4 separate regions of the Homo sapiens genome follow, and regions 2, 3 and 4 are each linked to region 1. The links are contacts of gene promoters, found by promoter capture Hi-C in human tissues and cell types (Jung and others, 2019). All regions are on one chromosome and are shown on one strand. The core of a region is centred on a gene start or on the middle of the fragment in contact, and the rest is flanking DNA. Distances in the headings are between cores, read along the strand shown.

The links. The method cuts DNA at HindIII sites, captures the fragments that hold promoters and counts their contacts. A contact is called where the count stands out against the background at its distance.
Region 2: a fragment that was not itself captured here is called in contact with the fragment with the promoter of GREM1 in region 1 in 4 of the 25 tissues and cell types used here (IMR-90 fibroblasts, lymphoblastoid cells, ovary and 1 more).
Region 3: a fragment that was not itself captured here is called in contact with the fragment with the promoter of GREM1 in region 1 in 7 of the 25 tissues and cell types used here (IMR-90 fibroblasts, adrenal gland, aorta and 4 more).
Region 4: a fragment that was not itself captured here is called in contact with the fragment with the promoter of GREM1 in region 1 in 5 of the 25 tissues and cell types used here (H1 embryonic stem cells, IMR-90 fibroblasts, lymphoblastoid cells and 2 more).

The regions. Positions count from the first base shown.
Region 1 is chr15:32,716,448-32,719,481 of GRCh38, forward strand. GREM1 (gremlin 1, DAN family BMP antagonist) reads left to right here and starts at 1,557. Exons shown (of 2, transcript NM_013372.7): 1 at 1,557-1,714. GREM1-AS1 (GREM1 antisense RNA 1) reads right to left here and starts at 2,418. Exons shown (of 2, transcript NR_109767.1): 1 at 2,098-2,418; 2 at 1,654-1,917. RefSeq lists enhancers at 1,063-1,563, 1,701-2,279, 2,280-2,857. The HindIII fragment of the contact is 12,229 bases long and covers 1-3,034 here.
Region 2 is chr15:32,633,364-32,636,223 of GRCh38, forward strand. The region is part of intron 9 of ARHGAP11A-SCG5 (ARHGAP11A-SCG5 readthrough); the gene reads left to right. It overlaps ARHGAP11A (Rho GTPase activating protein 11A), which reads left to right. Exons shown (of 12, transcript NM_014783.6): 10 at 570-678; 11 at 2,414-2,552. Among named protein-coding and RNA genes, the nearest start is that of SCG5, 6.9 kb to the right of the region's middle. The HindIII fragment of the contact is 4,296 bases long and covers 1-2,860 here.
Region 3 is chr15:32,817,065-32,819,994 of GRCh38, forward strand. All of the region lies in intron 17 of FMN1 (formin 1), which reads right to left. It overlaps LOC107984089 (a long non-coding RNA gene), which reads left to right. Exons shown (of 3, transcript XR_002957769.2): 3 at 500-2,930. Among named protein-coding and RNA genes, the nearest start is that of GREM1-AS1, 100 kb to the left of the region's middle. The HindIII fragment of the contact is 3,457 bases long and covers 1-2,930 here.
Region 4 is chr15:32,799,857-32,802,884 of GRCh38, forward strand. The region is part of intron 18 of FMN1 (formin 1); the gene reads right to left. The region is part of intron 1 of LOC107984089 (a long non-coding RNA gene); the gene reads left to right. Among named protein-coding and RNA genes, the nearest start is that of GREM1-AS1, 83 kb to the left of the region's middle. The HindIII fragment of the contact is 4,298 bases long and covers 1-3,028 here.

The DNA of each region.
Region 1 (3,034 bases), core at 307-2,806:
GAGCAAGACAGGTCTTCAAGCTGGTTCAATGCTCCCATTCTGTAGGCAACTACAAACTGTGGCTCACTGCATGACTTAACAACAACTGATTGAGAATTGTAAAGTGCAGCCTCGAGTTCATGTGTAGAAACTGCCATCTGCACAAACAAAACATTGAGAGGACTAAGATTTTAAGGATACTAATGCAGACGTCCTTCTTGCTTCATTTATTTAAAAATATCTATTTCACGTTCCTAACAGCATCTAGTAGATGTTTCTTGCTTCTTCCCCCTAACGCCGGACTAAAGAGAAAAAAAAAATAGGCTGTTTTCTGGTCTGGTTTTGTTTTCCTAGTCAAGTACTTAAATTACGGGTGTTTCGTAAGTATCTTTTGATGGATTTCATTGTTTTGTTTATTTCGCGTTAGACAATACAGACACCTTCATATTTCCTTCTGTAGCAAATCTTTTTCAAAGTCTTCATTTGACGTGGCTGATGGAGCTGGTCTGCAGATCTTGCAGACGTGTTAATTTTTGCACGGACTTTAGCTTCAACACACAAAACTTACGGCCTCTTTGAGGAACCAATTTTTCAGGCTAAGAGAACAAATGAAAGTGTTCGCTCATCTTTCGAAAACTATTTATGTACTTGGTATCCGGAATGTGACATTGGTTTTACACGTCGGTAGGTTTTTGTCCTAAATTTCTGGGAAGTTACTTCCTCATCTAACGTTTTATTTTCCTGACTTATTCGTCTTTGATATGCTACAGAAAACCCCTCTCGCCCAGTGGCTGTTTTCTCTCTGTCTCTTAAGATAATTTAGGAACAGAAGCCTTGACTTTTGACGGTCATTTAGTTTTATTCTCCTCCCGTGACTCCCCTCTGTACACTCACAGGGGAGGCCGCCGGCATCTGGGCTGAAAGAACCCTTGGCGGGCGAGGAGAGCAGGGTGTCATGTTGGCGACAGGCTCCTGCTGGCGGCCAGCGAGCCCGCCAGGTTAACGGGGGCGCCGGGGTCAGCGCCCTCGAAGTTGGGGGCCTCGGGCGGGGCCGCCGGGGAGCCACGACGGCCGCTCGACCAGAGCATCCCGCAGTCCCGTTCCCTCCAGAGGGGAAGAATGGCCGAATCTGGCACGATCCCACGGAGATCTCGCTCTTCCCAGCGCAGTCTCCGCTACTGAGCGCGGGACCAACGCAGGCGATGCCGGGCGGCCGACAGGGAAAGCCCAGACCTGGGGCAGAGAAGGAATGAGGGGCCGCCAGCCGGGGGGATTTCCTCCCGCTCTTCCCTCTCCAACGGGAGCGGAAAATGTGATTTGCTGTGCATTCCAGGCGCGGTTCCCTGGGGTGACCTCTCCCAGCCGGCCCGGGCGGGGGGAGCAGACAAAGAGGCGAGGCGGGCGGAGAGGGGACCCCGCGGGGAAGCAGGAGGGGTGCGGGGGGCGGGGGCAGTACCGGGAAAGGGGGCGGATAGCGGGTCTGGCGGCGGCGGCGGCGCCTGGCCAATGGAGAGGCGCGGCCCCGGGCGCCGCGCTCTGCCGCCGGCATTTAAACGGGAGACGGCGCGATGCCTGGCACTCGGTGCGCCTTCCGCGGACCGGGCGACCCAGTGCACGGCCGCCGCGTCACTCTCGGTCCCGCTGACCCCGCGCCGAGCCCCGGCGGCTCTGGCCGCGGCCGCACTCAGCGCCACGCGTCGAAAGCGCAGGCCCCGAGGACCCGCCGCACTGACAGGTGAGCGCGGACGCACCCGGCAGGGATGTGAGTGGGCGGAGGGAAGAGGGCCGCAAACCAACCCAGGACCCGCTCAGTTCCACGCGCGGCAGCCCTCCGTGCGCGCAGGCTCGGGTGCGTTGTTCGCGGGGGTGAATTGTGAAGAACCATCGCGGGGTCCTTCCTGCTGAGGCCGCGGACACCGTGACCTCGCTGCTCTGGGTCTGCAGGGAAACGTAGGAAAAAAAGTTGTCAGGAGCGGGCAGGATGACCCCCACATCCCGTTTCCACCTCCCGGAGGCCCCCGAACACGCTCCTGGTGCTGGTGGCAGCAGCGCCTGGCAGACGCGCCCGCTTAGCGAGGGCGCGAAGTCCAGGCCGCCAGAGCGCAGGAGCATCCGGACCTGCTAGTCGGCCGCTGACTGCGCGGCGAGTTGCCTTGAGAGGGTCCCATGTGCTTGGGGCGCCGCGCTGGGTCTGGGGGCGTCTTGGGGCGCCCATTGGAGTCCGCGGGTTGGAGCATCCGGAGAATCCATGATGTGTGCATTTGCCGATCCCCGAGGTGAGATGGAGACTGGCAAGGGCAGAGCCGCTGTGTTCAGCCACAGCGGAAAACCGAACGGTGGGTAATCCGACAGCTGCGGTGCGGGGCGCGGCCCTGGCCGCGGGGTCCAGCGAACCCGCAGTGCTCACAAGGCAGACACCACACGCGCTCGCGGACCGGCCACGCACTCGCGGGCGCTCGCTTCTCTACTCCAGCCTCTTCCCCGCCCCGCGCACGCCCGGGCTGAATGGTAGACGTTCTGGCGCCGGGCAGCGGCCACCGGCTGGTTCCCACTTCCGCGCGCACCCCTTAAACTGTGTTCTAGAGGCCCCAGCCTCGCCTTGCAGCGCCTCACTAGCTCCTGAGGACTAGGGACTGGCGGCTGAGGCGGGTTGGCGGCTGCAACGAGCTGGGCGTCTTTCGTTCTCTCTCGCTGCCTGGCTGGCTCCGCTGGCCCCTCCACAGCTTGCGGAGCAAGGCCATAGCAGGGGAGTGGGAGGTATATTGGGGCTGTCACCTCCTTGCTGGCCGGAGTTATTTGTAGACTACAGACTCCGGAAGAACAGACGCGCCACCGCTCTCGCTTGGCATTGCCTTCGGATCGCAGCTCCTCCTTGGGGGTGCCCCAGCTTGGCGTTTATTTGCCTGCGCCAGGCTCTGGCGACGGTCACCGGGCCAGGCGGGGAGGGACGGACGGCAGGTGACCAGCCTCTGCTGTGAAGAAATTCCTGCGCGCCCGGAGCTGTCCCTAATGCATTCCCGGGTCGAATCCGTCTACTGCCTTCCCCTCCTCGACC
Region 2 (2,860 bases), core at 41-2,540, 83 kb before region 1:
GGCACGGTGGCTTATGCCTGTAATCCTAGCACTTAGGGAGGCTGAGGTGGGTGGAGCACTTGAGCTCAGGAGTTCAAGACCAGCCTGGGCAACATGGCAAAACCTCATCTCTACTAAAAAGTACAAAAATTAGCCAGGCATGGTGCCACATGCCTGTAGTCCCAGCTACCTGGGAGGCTGAGGTGAGAGGATCATCTGAGCCCAGGGATGTCAAGGCTACAGTGAGCAGTGATTATGCCATTATACTCCAGCCTGGGCCGCAGAGTGAGACCCTGTCTCAAAAAATAAAAAACAAAGAAAAAAATTCCTGTTAGGTTAAAAAGCTAGCCTATTCTAACAATTCTGAGTTATAACTGACTGACTAACTTTTAAGATTAGCAGATCATTTTTTATGCAAATGCAGTGTGTTCATGTATGGTATCTTAAAGTTGAACTGTTTTTAAAGAATTATTAATCCATCCAATTATTATCAATATGATTTGCTGTGGACTTTATTTCAAATTTCGTATTTCAAGTATTTCTCTGGTGTTTATACTATAAACTGACATTTTTAATTCCACTTCTTCTAGAGTGGAATCAGGAAAAGCAGGCTGCTTTTCTCCTAAAATCAGCCATAAAGAAAAGGTTCGAAGATCTCTGCGTTTGAAATTCAATCTAGGGAAAAATGGCAGAGAAGTAGTAAGTTTCTTACCATTTTATTGATCTTTATATTAGCATAACGCTATAAACTTGATACTAAAAAACACTCATAGCCCTACCTTCCTTCCAGTGACTGTCTCATTCTGTTCTTTTTATCCAAAACTCTTATACTTGAGTTGATATCAAATTTCCTTGCATTGGAGTACCCAAAGCTTAGTCCTTGGACTTCTCTTTTTTCTCTCCACTCACTCAAGGTGATCATCAGTTTTAAACATTATATACAGGTTGAGTAGCACTTATCCAGAATGCTTGAGACCAGAAGTATTTCAGATTCCCCATTTTTGGGGGGGATTTTGGAATATTTACATTATTTTTACTAGTTCAGCATCCCTAATCTGAAAGTCTGGAATGCTCCAGTGAGCATTTTCTTTGAACATCATGTCAAATACTTAAAAGCTTTGGATTTTTGGAGCATCCAGAACTTTGGCTTTTCAGATTTGGAATGCCCAACCTGTATTTACTTAAAACTTCCAAGTTTATGTTCTCTAGTCCCAAATGCTCTTCTGAATGACTCCGCTGTCTCTTAACATCTGCTTTTTTGACTCTCCTACTTGGATATCTAATCCAATAGGCATTTCAAATGTAACCTGTCCCAAGCAGATGGATTTCTTTGCTGCTGCTATGCCCTGCACCAAACAACACTTTTACCTGTGGTTTTCCCTATCTCAGTTATGGCAAATCGTTCTTCCAGTCACTTAAGCCAAAAACCATGGTCAAATCCTTGATTCCTCACTTTCTCTGAGACACCATGTCTAATCCATTAGAGAATCTTGTCTAACTTCTGCTTTTAGAGTATCTCCAAACTGACCAGTTCTCACTATTACTACTTTTCCCACTTTCTCTAAGTTCTGTCATCTCTCAGCTGGATTACTCTAGTAAACTCCTGTTAATAGTTCTTCCTTCTCCTACCCTTGCTGCAGTTCTGTAGTTGAAATTTATCTTTTAAAATCTGTTAGGTTATGTAGTTTTCTGCTCAGAACTCTCCAGTGACTCCTCGTTTCACTCTGAATAAAAGCCAGAGTTCTCATGTTGACCTGCAAAGGCCTCACGTGATCTGTTCTCAGGCTGCATTTCTGAGCTCTCCTCCAGTCCCCCTTGCTCACTCTGCTCCAGTCTCAGAGACTGCACTGGCATTCTGCTCTTTCTGTAGTGTTCTTCCCCCTTAAATCTTCATGGCTCTCACCTTTGTTTTGTTTTACTCACAAATTATCTCCTCATCACCCTATTTTAAACTAAACCTCCATTCTTCACCACTCCATATCCTTTTTACTCTGTTTTACTTTTCTCCGTAGCACTTTTCACCTTGTATATTGTATTTATGCAATATAATTTACTGTTTATCTTAAGTCTAAATTTCCCCATCTAAATAGAATGTAAATTACATAAGGATAAGATTTTGGTCTAGGTACCCCACTGCCCCAACTATTTGTGAACAGGCCCTAGCACAGAGTCAGAGCACACACAGAAATTATTTTAATTAATATGTGAGACTGTTTTAAAAATAGATCATAAAATATCAACTAATAGCAAAATCAAATGATTACAGTTTTCATTAGCAGGCAAGAATGTTTGTCATTGTTAAGAATTGTTTCTCAATTATATATCCCTTTTTAAATCAGCTAAAGATTTTGATAACTACAAAAAATTATTCTGTCTTTATATTTTGAATTAACTAGGCTTATTTCTTAACTAAAACTTTTTTTTTTCTGTACAGAATGGATGTTCTGGTGTCAATAGATATGAAAGTGTTGGTTGGCGACTTGCAAATCAACAAAGTTTAAAAAATCGAATTGAATCTGTAAAAACAGGTTTGCTTTTTAGCCCAGATGTTGATGAAAAGTTACCAAAGAAAGGTACATTTACATACTACTGTTAGAGTTTTACCTAAAAATCCTGCTTTAGTTGCTTTTTTAATGGCAAAACATATTAATTAATTTACTGTTCTAGAGATTAAAAGTTCATGTTTGAATAGTGAAAATATTAGAATTGGCAATGTATTTTTCTATCAACAATTGGGAAATGCTTATACATGTAAATATGAAAATGTTTGACATTCTTATGTTAAAAATTATTTCTTGTAACACAAATACTTTATTAGAATTAAATGCTTAGTGACTTATTTGCCATGTGCTTGGGTATTATTTCAAAACAAGGTTAAATA
Region 3 (2,930 bases), core at 276-2,775, 100 kb after region 1:
AGCATCATACCTTGACAAAGGAAATTTCTTGTTCTAGATCTATTTACACGAAACCTCTGACATCTGTGTAGCTTAACACATTTGTTAAATAGCTGAAGCTCTCCCTCTAGAAAAATAATTGTTCAGATGTTTAGTCATAAAAATGAATAGACTACCAGAACGTCCTGTAAATAATCATGAAATAGCCATTGCTATCCTTAAATCAATCTTCTTTTAAAACCCTGGCAAAGGCTAAATGTACTTAGGAAACTGAATTTACATGGCCACAGAACCCGACAAAAGTCTAATTTCCCTAATATTGGCTATTGCTTACAACATCAAATTACTTTTTAACCCATTTTTATTTCACTTGGTCAAGGGTTTGTCATAGCTGGAGGTTTAAAACGGGTCCACTAGAAATGGTACCCAAGAATTAACACGATGACTTCAAGAGCTCTGATGTTACCAAGTATCTAGGTGTGATGAAGGTCATAATCTGTCTCTTGGGTGATATTTGCAGGAAAAGAAAATGCTGAGAGAACTGGGATTCCCAAAGAAGATGCTGCAGAAGATATTTTCCACATTAAAGAACATTTGATCTGTTCCACCAGTAGATGAACCATTAGCAGAAGCAATCATTATCAGAGCCAGTAAAAGGAAATAAAGAAATGAGGCTTGGTTTTTAAAGTGACCACACTGCTTCTAAGTCAAGGTGAAAGTGCTGACAGTGAATTTATCAGAATTCCAGGTGGAATCCTCCAGAGTCACCTTTCAATCATAACTGTCATCCTCAGAGAAAAAGCTTTTGTTGAAGAAAAATTTGTACAAACATTGAATAATCACATTGATATGGTAACAATTTAACAATACATTCAATAAGAATGAATGTTACAGTGGGTCACTTTTTCCCTGCTTTTTATCAAACCTTTGTATTTTCCCCAGATTTTACAAGTAATAAATCCTCATTGTAGAACATTTGAGAAAGATATAAATAAGAAAATAAAAGCAGTGCATAAGACTTTCTCTGAGCAATGGCCACTATTAATATGCTGATTCATTTCATAAATGTATATATTTATAATCACACACTCATTTGTGCTTTAGTTATATAGTTGAAATTATATTGAATGTAATGTCCTTTCTTGCTTTTTCATTTTTTCCCTTGCATTTTATTTAACATAAAGGTATAGGTATAGGTCAACTTCTAAATGAATACTTTTATAATGAATTTATATTTAAATTTACAATTATTAAAAATAATTGTTGAAAAATTAGCCTTTATTTCAAAGTGAGTATGGAACCTATTCAAACAAAACATTTTCTAGAAACTCATGAAAGCATTTCAGAATAATTTTTTGACAGTTCTTCCTAAACGAGATCTTGTAGGAAAGAAGTGTTTATGAAGGATTATTAAAATATTACCAAATAGAATTAAGGCAGATTTTTATCTTTTGATTTAACTTGGAAATCATCCATTGCTTCACCCTTTAGTCTTCCTATTTTTGCGCCTTAGAGAAATGTTTTACATGGCTACCAGTGCATTTTAAAATAGTGTCTAATACTGCAAAGTAAGTTGAGATTTCTTTATCCTGTGCTTAAACCTAATATATACTACTTATTCTGTATTTGAAAAATATAGTATAAAGAAAATACCCTTAATGCAAAAAATATTGAGGATCAGTATATTCTTGGAAGCAAATGTGAAGCCTCTGTGTATATGACAAGCCACACACACAAGCACGCATTCAGTAGGAAACAGATCTCCCTCGAAATCTGAGAGGGTAAAATGTTCAAATATTATGCAAACTGGAGAAGTGCCACCATCTCCTGTACGCAGGAGCCTGAAGCTAATTGTACAAGTGGCACGAAGCTGATTTCAGAAAGTAAAAAAAAAAAAAAAGGCTCATGAAACCAGAGGCTTGAAATGTTTTACTGGAGAAAAACCATAGCATTACCTCCTCCTGTGGGATGATAACAATGATTTATGAAGCTGAAGTCATTCCTTGTGATTGCACTTCAGGGAGATTGGTTTCACATGATCTGCGAAGGCAGGCAAGGCGAGCTGAAGAAGAACCCCACATGTTCAACTGAGGCTGAGCTCTGCCTCTTCAAGGGGATTCCAGAGCTCCGAGGAGGGGGAGGAAAACCTACTGCTTTCTGATCCATGCAACCCCCTTCCCCCCAACCAACAAGCTTATTAGGTGGACATACGGCTCTCTTATTTTCTCTCTCCTTTTAAAAAGTATTACTACTTCTGCTGTGTGGGAGTAGAAGCTTGTTGTAAATGCCCAGCAGGATAGTAGCAAAGCCAAGATTAATTCCCTATGGATTTATATGGGTCGTTCTCACCCACGATGACTTGTACCGTTTCAAAGGTGCTTATGCTGCTGTTTTTATGGCTGGTCACTAACTTTATTCTGGCATATGGTGGTTGGCGCCATGACATGGAGTGAACATTTTATACCTGAATTAAAGTGGATATTTGACAGTTTCTGTCAGAAAGTTCAGAGCAAAGAATTTGTGGGACAAGATTTATTGCATATTTTATATGGGACACATCTGTTTCTTTGCTAGCTTTGTTCCTTCCCACAAAAAAATTTAAAGACGTTTCCTAAAGAAATATAATGACTGATAGGAAAAAAATTCCAAAGCAGAAGAAAAATATGGTCAAAAGTTGGGCATTTAGGATCTAACTTTATAAAAAAGAAAGAAAAAAAACCACTTCTCATTTTGACGAGGAAAAATGACTCACAGTCATGTATAGAAGCTCAGTGAAACAATGCTGTTATTATTGGCAATTATTTTATGGTTAGTTTAATGTCATTTATATAATGAAATTAAAAATGTAAATGTATTACCTACCATTTTTCGCATACTTGAAACAGGACTGGCAAGAATAATCTGCCTTTGATGTATTTTTAAGATTTTGCCATCTCAAATGGTGGACTGAA
Region 4 (3,028 bases), core at 130-2,629, 83 kb after region 1:
GAGCAAGAACACTTAAATAAATGACCCCCTTTTCTAGGGTGTTGGAAACTAATCAAAGCAGGAATGGCTGGCCAGGTTTATTACTCAATGCTCTATCATCTGTTCAGACACAGTGGTTTTTTTTTTGTGTGTGGCCATCCTGAATACTGATTTTCTAATGGAACTCTATTCAATGGCGATTGTAAAACCCTGAAGCTCCGTTACTATTATGGAGCATACTTTCATCTCATTCTCGGTTATTGGGCAATATGTATCTCATAAGATTTTATCACATTTCACAGATGAACTGTTAATTGATTCCATGGGTACGATTAGGCGAGATCCAAGCTGGAGCTGCAGCTCTGAGTCCCATAAATTCTTTGTGCTTCTGTAAAGAATAAATCTGTTTTTAATGCAAATTAAAACTACTGGTCAGGGAATTTTGGCTCCCAGTTATTAAAAGACTGGAAATGTGTAAGTGGAGAAAGGCAATAACTGCAGTAATCTCTTAAGGGACTCTATTATAATTCCAAACATACATAATGTTGAGAAAAACCGGGAAGGGAAGAATGTGGCAATGTCCACTCTTGCCCCAGACATAACCCTTATTTCCATGGCAGTCCAAACACTGGTAAAACCAAATGTACACTCTATAGCATGTAACTTTATTTCACTCAAATGAAAATTATTTTGACTATAGCATGGGAATACATAAGTAGAGAGTTATATAACCTATAGGAACAGGCCATTCATTTCCTACAAAGTCACAGGACTTTAGAATGGGAAGGAATTTACAGGATGACTTGCCCAAATTATCATTTTATAGGTGACAAAACAGAGACCTGGAAAGACTGTGTGGCATTATTCCCTGGTAGGGTTGGGCCTGGAATTCAGGTCCCCTGATTTTCTGTGAAATGCTCTGTCTGCTTTATCTTTCTGTTGCTCATGCTCAATAACACAGGCATTTAAGAGACAAAATAGTCGTTCTACCCCACCCTTTTCTACTTTAGACACAGGTGTCCTCCTCTGTATCACACATAACATGCATTACCCCAGGGAGGGCATGTGATTATTTTTTCTCTTTCTTATGCTTACCTTCTATACAGATACATATTTATTTGAGCATTCATGGGGAAGGGAAAGTCTTTCATTTCTAGTATTTAGAGGGACAACTTATCTTCTGATTTTCCAGCAAAATATAGTGAAGTCCAGTTATTGTGCTTCATGGAACACCTGACACCTCTGGCATCACCTGGAGTCTAGATTGTGAGATCAACATATTGCAAATCCTGGTGCAGTTTCAGAGAATGTCAAGAGTGATTTGGTGGTTGTTGCACAGCCTGAGAAAAACACATCATCCTCCTGTGGGCCTCGATTTTCCCAACTCTAAACTGAAGCTAACCATTGCCCTCCTTGCCTCTCTCCCTGGGGATTTGTGAGGTACTGCTTGCTTACTCTCCCTGAAAGGGGGAGAAACACTAAAAAAAATACTAAATTTCAGCCTTTTTTTTCTTATGTGTTTTGGAAACTAAGAAAGCAAGTGAACCTCTTCAGAAGAACCAAAGTACACAGACTCCCAGAGGATGGCCTGGCTTTGGCACTCAGCAGCTTAGACAAAGATAAAGTCGCTTCAAGAATGTGCCTTATTTGGCCGGGCACAGTGGCTCACGCCTGTAATCCTAGCACTTTGGGAGGCCGAGGCGGGTGCATCACGAGGTCAGGAGATCGAGACCATCCTGGCTAACATGCTGAAACCCCATCTCTACTAAAAACAAAAACAAAAAAACAAAAACAAACAAACAAAAAAAAATTATTCAGGCGTGGTGGTAGGCACCTGCAGGCCCAGCCACTCAGGAAGCTGAGGCAGGAGAATGGCGTGAACCTGGGAGGCAGAGCTTGCAGTGAGCCCAGACTGCGCCACTGCAATCCAGCCTGGGCGACAGAATGAGACTCCGTCTCAAAAAACAAACAAACAAACAAAACCAGTGTGCCTTATTTGATTTCATTGTTATTCCACTGTTTAAGAAAATGCTAAAAGCTAGAATATGAACCTGCAATGGTTTGATAAGGCCTAGACTGTTGTCTTTCCTAGACAAAACTCCATTTTAAATTCAGTTTTGATTCACAGAGATTGACCACTGAAAATCTTTTGCAATTTGGACAAGAAAATTGTTGATATTTAACAACCAGGAGAATTTTCTCTAATATACAGGAAACAAAGGTCAATCATGCGATTTGAAATTTCTATTTGTTAGCAGATAGCTCTAAAATGGCTCTCAAATTTTAGAAGATTGATTTCTAATCCTATGTTTGGTTTTATATAACTTTTTCATTTCATGCAAACTAGTCCCTGACCCCTTTTCTCTCTGCTATAATTCCCTGTCTGATTTGTATCTTTTTAATTCAGCCAAACATTTTTAAAGTACAGACAATGATTACATCAAAGAGCCTGTAGCGAAGTGAACTGTTTTACTTTTACAGTCCTGAGATCCAGAGCGGAACACATCCACTTATTGTCTTACATGCATGCCTTCAGAAACTGCTTAGGAAAAGCAAATATGCCTTAGCCTCAGAGTAAATTGTTTCTCTTGAGAATAAAACATAAGAATTCACTAATCTCACACAAATATTGCAACACTGACCACAACCTCCTTAAAGAGTATAACCAAACAACTGTGGTTTCTACATTAAAGATGGGATCTAACATATTTCATGTATGACATGAAAGCTAGACTACCTTCACCACAAAGCCACGGAAAACGCTGACAACCAGAATTTATGACTCCCCTCCACAGAGCTAATGCACGGCAGCAGTTTCGGCCCCTCCACGCTGGGCCCCCTTTTCCTTCAGCAAGAATCCTGAAAAAGTATTAGAAATTTGACATCCGCCCCAGAAGCTGAATTTCTGTTTGGCCTGACACCAACGTGCCCTTGTTGATAATCTCTTATGTGCTGGATGTTTCTATAACACAGACGTGCTAGTTTTATGCATTGTGAAGGGAAGCTTAACATAGGAATAAGGTCAATAGAGAGACACAAACTCCTAAAA